Regions from separate parts of the Homo sapiens genome. Here region 1 is linked to region 2. Evidence: promoter capture Hi-C in human tissues and cell types (Jung and others, 2019). All regions are on one chromosome and are shown on one strand. The core of a region is centred on a gene start or on the middle of the fragment in contact, and the rest is flanking DNA. Distances in the headings are between cores, read along the strand shown. Region 1 has its middle 14 kb from the start of SNHG6. Region 2 holds the start of RRS1 (regulator of ribosome synthesis 1).

The links. The method cuts DNA at HindIII sites, captures the fragments that hold promoters and counts their contacts. A contact is called where the count stands out against the background at its distance.
Region 1: a contact is called between a fragment that was not itself captured here and the fragment with the promoter of RRS1 in region 2, in 1 of the 25 tissues and cell types used here (mesendoderm cells).

Annotation. Positions count from the first base shown.
Region 1 is chr8:66,937,974-66,941,553 of GRCh38, reverse strand. No RefSeq gene overlaps it. Among named protein-coding and RNA genes, the nearest start is that of SNHG6, 14 kb to the right of the region's middle. RefSeq lists an enhancer at 357-858. The HindIII fragment of the contact is 8,975 bases long and covers 1-3,580 here.
Region 2 is chr8:66,426,855-66,430,517 of GRCh38, reverse strand. It overlaps RRS1 (regulator of ribosome synthesis 1), which reads right to left and starts at 1,504. Exons shown (of 1, transcript NM_015169.4): 1 at 1-1,504. The coding sequence starts at 1,386. The coding sequence ends at 289. It overlaps RRS1-DT (RRS1 divergent transcript), which reads left to right and starts at 1,541. Exons shown (of 3, transcript NR_040434.1): 1 at 1,541-1,576. All of the region lies in intron 1 of LOC102724687 (a long non-coding RNA gene), which reads left to right. RefSeq lists enhancers at 1,256-1,625, 2,046-2,115 and a silencer at 1,766-1,855. The HindIII fragment of the contact is 14,371 bases long and covers 1-3,663 here.

The sequences.
Region 1 (3,580 bases), core at 185-2,684, 510 kb before region 2:
AGATAATAGACTTAAATTTCAGACTTTATGAAGAGAGAAAATGGAATTTTAAGTTCCAAAAGCTGCCCTCTATGTATAAGCGCCAAGATTGGAGGTCTATAAATGGAGTTTTACTAAAGGTGCTAACAGGGAAGGGAGGCCAAGGCACTGAGAGGTAGTGGAGGTGTCAACCTCCACTGGTGTCCATCTTGAGAAAAATAGGGAAGTGTGGGGTAGTGAAAAATTGGAGACAAGGGCTGACCTTGCCACAGTTCTCTAGACAAAGCCCAACAAAGCCCTAGATTCTGCCCAGAGCCACACCCTGGGCAGGCAAGATGAGCAATGGCTGAGGGAGGGTCCTGAGGGCAGCCCCACACCGCAGGCTGCCACAGGTCACAAGCTGCTGAGAGTACTCAGGCCAGGATGCCAGGACACAGGAGGCCGCAGAGTACAGGGCCCCCAAAAGGGGACATTGTAAGCAGGATGCAGGATCTCAGCAGTGGATGCCAGCATGACCCTGAGGGACCAGGTAGTGACAGACACACTATGTCAGAGTGCAGTCTAGACCCAGAGGACAGACAGCATGGGAGCCTGCAGTCCCTCCCTCCATGTCCTTTTGATTCACAACTGCTCCCTGAAGCCATCTAGGGATGAATGGAGAAGGACAGGCAGGAAGCCCATTGAGTGTAAACAGCACTGATAGAGCTTCAACTTTTACTTGGCTGAATATTTAATGAACAGAGACTAACATCAAAAGGGATCTGTTTGGCAGTTTTCCTCTTCAGGAGTGAGGATTCTAGAACAAGATGAGGTTGGATACAGGACATAAAGCTACGTTATTTTCCTCACATTCCAGTCATGGTATGGACATTTTAACCCAATTATACAGTAGAGATGGACTATCTGCATCAACAGTTTACACCTAATTGCTCAGTATTCCAACTTATTTGACCTTATAGTTTAGAACACACCAAAATGACTGTGTTGGTACTGAGGACCTTCCTGGACCTTTGCAAATGGATTAGGAAAGAGTCTTGAGAAACTTGCCCAGCGTTGTCCAGCTAATCAGAGGCCAGATTCAGGCCCAGACAGTATGGCTCCGAGAGCCTGGTTCCTGTCCTAGACTACCTACTCCGTTAGTGCCTGGATGCTTAAAGCACTTGAGTTTGCACCCCTAGTTTGGTTGGAAAACACTGTCCTTTGCTGCAGGTCTCTCACTGTGGTAAGCACTTGGTATAGGGTTTGTTCTCAATACATTTCCCTTGCCTTTTGCCCTCTTCCCCTTAGCTCACAAAGTTGATATGAAATAATAGCTGAGAAAGTGCATGTAGGCAGCTCAGTGCAAGCTAGGTGTGTCTTCCCTGGCTCATTAGCTCCATTTGATGAAGAGTTAAACATGTAAGGTGAAGCGTGACACAAAAACCCGCAAGCTGCCTTAAAGGGAAAGATGGCTAATTTTGACTACATAAAAATAAATTCACAAAACAAAAGACAAGGTCAAAAGACAAAACACAAGCCAGAGGAAAAAAATCACAACACATGATAAAGCAGTAAATCTCTTTACATAAAATCAGTTCTCAGATTTCAAAAAAGCAAAACACCAACAACTTAGTGGAAACTTGCACAAATGGGAGCAAAGACCGAGCCCCTGCACTCCAGCCTAGGCAACAGAGCGAGACTCTGTCCCCCTACCCCCACAAAAAAAAATAAAAAAGAGAAACTTCCACAAATGGTAACAAACAGCAGTTCATAGAAAGAAACCAAACAGGGCCGGGCACGGTGGCTCACGCCTGTAATCCCAGCACTTTGGGAGGCTGAGGTGGGCGGATCACTTGAGGTCAGGAGTTCGTGACCAGCCTGGCCAACATGGTGAAACCCCGTCGCTACTAATAATACAAAAATTAGCCATGCATGGTGGCAGGCTTCTGTAATCCCAGCTACTCAGCAGGCTGAGGCAGGAGAATCACTTGAACCCACGAGGTGGAGGTTGCAGTGAGCCGAGATTGTCCCGCTGCGCTCCAGCCTGGGCAATAGAATGAGAATCTGTTTCAGGAAAAAAAAAAAAAAGAAACCAGCCAATATATTTATGAAAAGATACACAAGTTCAGGCATAATTAAGAAACACACATTTAGAAAGCAATGGAAGAACATATTTCACCTGTCAATGATACAAAAAATACTCATCATTAGTGAAGGTGAGGAAATGAGGACTTTTGTACTGTTGGAAGCATAACCTCTTTTAAATGTAATTTGACAGTATCTCCCACTATTATAAGTATACACACTCTGACTTAGCAATGCCATGTTAAAAAATTTCCCTACCAGGCCGAGTGCAGTGGCTCACACCTGTAATCCCAGAACTTTGGGAAACAAGGCGGGTGGATCATGAGGTCAGGAATTCGAAACAAGCCTGGCCAAGATGGTGAAACCCCGTCTCTACTAAAAACACAAAAATTAGCCAGGCGTGGTGGCATGTGCCTGTAATTTCAGCTACTCAAGAGGCTGAGGCAGGAGAATCGCTTGAACCTGGGAGGCGGAGGTTGCAGTAAGCCAAGATTGAGGCACTGCACTCCAGCCTGGGCGGTGGAGCAAGACTCCCTCTCAAAAAACAAAAAACAAACAAAAATCCCTATTGATATACTTACATTTGTAAATGTATGTAAGAATAATTATTGCAGGTATTCATCATTTTTACCTTATAATTTGTAGCCTTGACAGTTTCCCCAGCCTTCAGTATTGGCTGCACCCAAGTAACCTATCAAAAAATGCAAACCTGAAGATATAACATACTTGCTCAAATCCCTTCAGTGGTATCCCATGATCTAAGGATGAAGTCTAACCCCTTAACTTGATTTATGAACCCTCTTCCTATGTCACTGCCCTCCACCACTTCCTATTTTACATTTTAGTTATTAGTAAACACATGTGCACACACACACACAGCTATTTCACGCTTCAGTGCCTTTGTTCATCAATCATCAGTTGGTCCACAAATTTTTTTATTTTTTTATTTTATTTATTTATTTTTTGAGATAGAGTCTCACTCTGTCGCCCAGGCTGGAGTGCAGTGGCTCGATCTCGGCTCACTGCAAGCTCTGCCTCCCGGGTTCACGCCATTCTCCTGCCTCAGCCTCCCGAGTAGCTGGGACTATAGGCGCCCGCCACCACGCCCGGCTAATTTTTTGTATTTTTAGTAGAGACGGGGTTTCACCGTGTTAGCCAGGATGGTCTCGATCTCCTGACCTCGTGATCCACCCGCCTCGTCCTCCCAAAGTGCTGGGATTACAGGCGTGAGCCACCATGCCTGGCCCACAAATGTTTTTTTAATGCTACGGCAGGCATTGTTCATTGCTTACTAGATTAGTTAGGAATTGCATTCAGCTGCTAATAAGAAAGACCCAACTATAGTGGCTTTAGTAAATTAAAAATTTATTCTCTAAAAGAAATCCAGGCCGGGTGCTGGGGTCTCACGCCTGTAATCCCAGCACTTTGGGAGGCTGAGGCGGGCAGATCACGAGGTCAGGAGTTCAAGACCAGCCTGGCCAACACAGTGAAACTCCATCTCTACTAAAAATACAAAAAAAAATTAGCCGGGCTTGGT
Region 2 (3,663 bases), core at 255-2,754:
AAAAAAGGCTGTTTAAGAATAGAACTCATTCCCGGTTTCCACCAAATTATTTCCCTAATTCTTAAATCCTCAAATAAGTTCTTAATCTCCAAAGTCTCGGTTGTGGGAAAAACATTAATTTGTGCAGTCCAACACTTACATACTTTCTTGACGGAAGGGCAATCCTGTCCCTTTAAACTCAATGAAGGCAGCGGCCAGGTCCTTCTGAGTCCCCGTATAATTGCCTAGAACTTAACATTTAGTATTCATAGTCCTTGGTTTACAGACGGGTCCGACAGTTAGAAACTATTACTTCCTCCTCTTTCCTCCTGGGCGCTGTCCTCCTTTTCTCTTGCCACCCAAGCCAGGCGGCCCAGAATTCATCTTGCCTCCCAAGCCCCCTTTCCTCTTCCCTCCCTGGCTGGGCGGGCCCCCTTTCCTCTTGCCCCCAGGCCCCTGCCGGCCTCCCTTTCTCTTGCCCTTCTGGCTCATTTTCCTCCTCTTGGCGGCCTCCTCCTGGTCCTCCTCCCTCATCTGCTTATTGGTGGCCCTAGTCACATCCAGCTGAGGCTTCTTGCTGTTCATGACACGAAGCAGCTCCAACTGGTTCTTTTTCTCGGCTGCAAAGTCCCCGAAAAGGGGTTGAAACTTCCTTTTCTTGCCGGAGCCCCGGGGCACCTTCTCCTTGGGGAGGCGCTCCTGAAAGCGCCCCACAGAGGCGGTGGAGACCTTGGCCACTTGCATGGCGCGGCCCAGCTCCTCCTTACTCTGGTGTCCGGTAGGGTGCAAGCCGGCCGCGCTGGGCAGCTGCATCTTGTGCGCGCGGGCCAGGTTACGCAGCCGGTTCAGCTCGTTCTTGGCCACCCTTTCCTTCTTGGCCTGAATCCGCTTGGCGAACTGGTCCTCCAAGGGGTCGGCATTGCCGGGCACCTCAATCAGCCATTCTTTGGTGTCGTCCCGGGCGCGCTGGTAGCCCCAGCGCCGCCGCCACTGGCCACTCACCTCGTCCCACACCAGGTTGGTCTTCTTCTTGGGACGGATGCCCTTGAGGCGCGCGAACTGCTGCCAGCGTGTAAGTGGCCGCGGTCGGGGCAGAGGCTTCTCTCGCGGCAGGCGTGTGGTGGGCTCCGGCAGCCGCGCCACTATCGCCTCTTCCACGCGCTCCGTGGGCAGCTGCCACAGCTGGTTGATGAGCAGTTGCGTGTTGTCCCGCGCCAGGGCCTGTAGCTCGGCCTCCGGCGTGGGTCCGGCGCACCGCAGCCCGGTCGGGGGGTTCCGGTCCGACGCCAGCAGGTTGCCCAGGTCAAACTGCAGCTCCAGCTCCTTGTGCACCGTGATGCGTTGCAACTTCTCTGCCTCGTCCTGCTCTGCCTTTGCGAGCAGCTCCTCCACGCTCTGGCCCTCCATGGCTCCGGCTCGGCTCACTCGCTTTGGGGCTGCAGCTGAAGTTACTTTTCCTACAGTGGCGGCCCAAACTCCGGCAGCATAACCACGTGCAGATGCCGGGATGCCCAATCCGGAAAAGAAAGGTTCGCTTCCGGAGCGTCCGGAAGCGGCTCGCAATCCGGGCGACCAGAGGAAAGGCCGGCAGAGGGCGGTATGGAGAGATGATGGGATTAGAAGCGGGACCTTTAGGCTGGCGCCAGATAGAGGCGGAGCTGGCCCGAGCAGGCCGCACTGCTAGTTCCAGAGCAGGATTGGGACTACGATTCCCAGGATGCAGGGGGCGGGAGGCGGTCTAGAGGGCGGTCCAGGGACAGCTCGGGGGGCCGCCTAGGGGGTGGTCCAGGGGGCGGTCCGGGGACAGTCTCGCAGGCGGTCTAGAGAGGGCGGTCCCGGGGGGCGATCTAGGGGGCGGTCTTGGGGGGGGCAGTTCAGGGAGTGGTCTTAGGATGGTGGTCCGGGGACAGTCTTGGGGCTCAATCCGGAGGGGCGGGCCGGAGGGTTTGTCCAGGGGCGCGGTCCGGGACCGGGGCGGGTACAAATTCCTGGGACTGCCTGTGGTGTGGGGTTCCAATCAAGTGCGTGTTACAATTTCAGTGTAAATCCGTTGTGAAGATGTTTAGACAATCACCCTTCTTAGGGCCAAATAGTTTCACTGGAGTCATAGTCGGCTTTCAGGGTTCCTAGTTGTGGCCCGAGAAAGATAACATCCCAAAGATACACATAGAGCTAATTGTAGAAGATTCGTTTTGTTTTGGGAGTCAGTGGCTCTGGCAATGAAGCCACCCCGAGTGGGCGCGGGTGTGCACCGACCCTAGTGAGCTAGCTGACTCGGAGATCCGGGATTCTGCAGTTACAGAACCTAGTCTAGTTCAATTAATCTAGTACAGTGCTGAAACTAAGCCACGCTCTGCAGTTACACTGCCTGGGTTCCAATCCTGACTGTGCCACTGTTGGTCCTTCAGCAATTTTACTTGTTGAGGCCGTTTTAAGGCCTGCGAGATAATGATAATAATACTTCCTAGGGTGGTTATAAGATAAATGAGTTAATATCGTCCAAGGGAGGGTTAGACGAGGGCCTGGAGCGTATGAGTACTCAGTACAAATTAGCCAAATACCGATTATTATTTCATTTTCATAGGCTCTGGGAGGTAAGTGCTACATGGTGTTAAGTATGAGTCAAACGGCCTACAATCAGGTATCAGGTCACCATTACTTGGAGAGGATGTTTGATCTAAGCCTTATTTATAAATTGACAAACATAAAACATTAGTTACTGCTACATGGTAAGAACTCAGTATGTGTTAGCTATTAGTATTAACTATGTTATTAATTATTGTATTAACTATATTATTTTCACAGATGAAACAAGGAGGGCTCAGAGAGGTGAAATGACTTATCTAAAGTTATGCAGTTAGGGAATATAAGAACAAGAGATATCTTAACTCTGGTTTTAAGTCTGTAGATCTATTCTCTGCAATGTCGTCCAAGCTCTTGATACTCATTAAAGTGTGGTCTGCATACCAGCAGCATAATATCCCCTGGGAGCTTGTTGGAAATGCAGAACGTCAGGCCTCACTCTAGATGTAATTTATCAGAACCTTTATTTTAATAAGATCTGTAGGTGACTAGGATGTACATTTGAGTATCAGAGGCACTGTTGATTGCGTGGTTTACAGGGTTTATCTTCCTTTCACTGGGGGCCAGGTTTATCCTAGAGGGGGTTATGCTGGAGAATTAACCAATGAAATTAACTTAATAGCAATTAGCAAATAGACTCAGTTTAGTTTCAGCATTGTGCTAGCCTTTCTCATCCAGAAGCATTTTAGAATTTGCTGTTTTTTTTTTCCCCTTGAACCTACTTTAACATTCAGCATCAAGGCTTTAACATCAGTCATCCCATGTAGCCAAGGCTAGGTCAAAGACCATATTAGCTAACTGCCTTGAGCCTTAAACCTTTGGGATTTGCCATAGGAGAGAGTTGAGTGTATTGATATGACTGCTATGGGCTTGGCTTGGTTTCTCATTCATTCATTCACTTGACAAACATTTAATTGAATGGCTACCATGTGGCAGACACTAGGTGCAAAGATAACTGAGACCTTATGGAATACTGGGGAAGAAAGGTAAAAAGAAATTGACTATATAATGTAACGTCATTGGACCTTTAATAGGAAGTACCAGTTATGTAGGAGTTAGCTTCTCTGTCAATCTTCTGAATTGGGAAAAAAAGAGCATAGG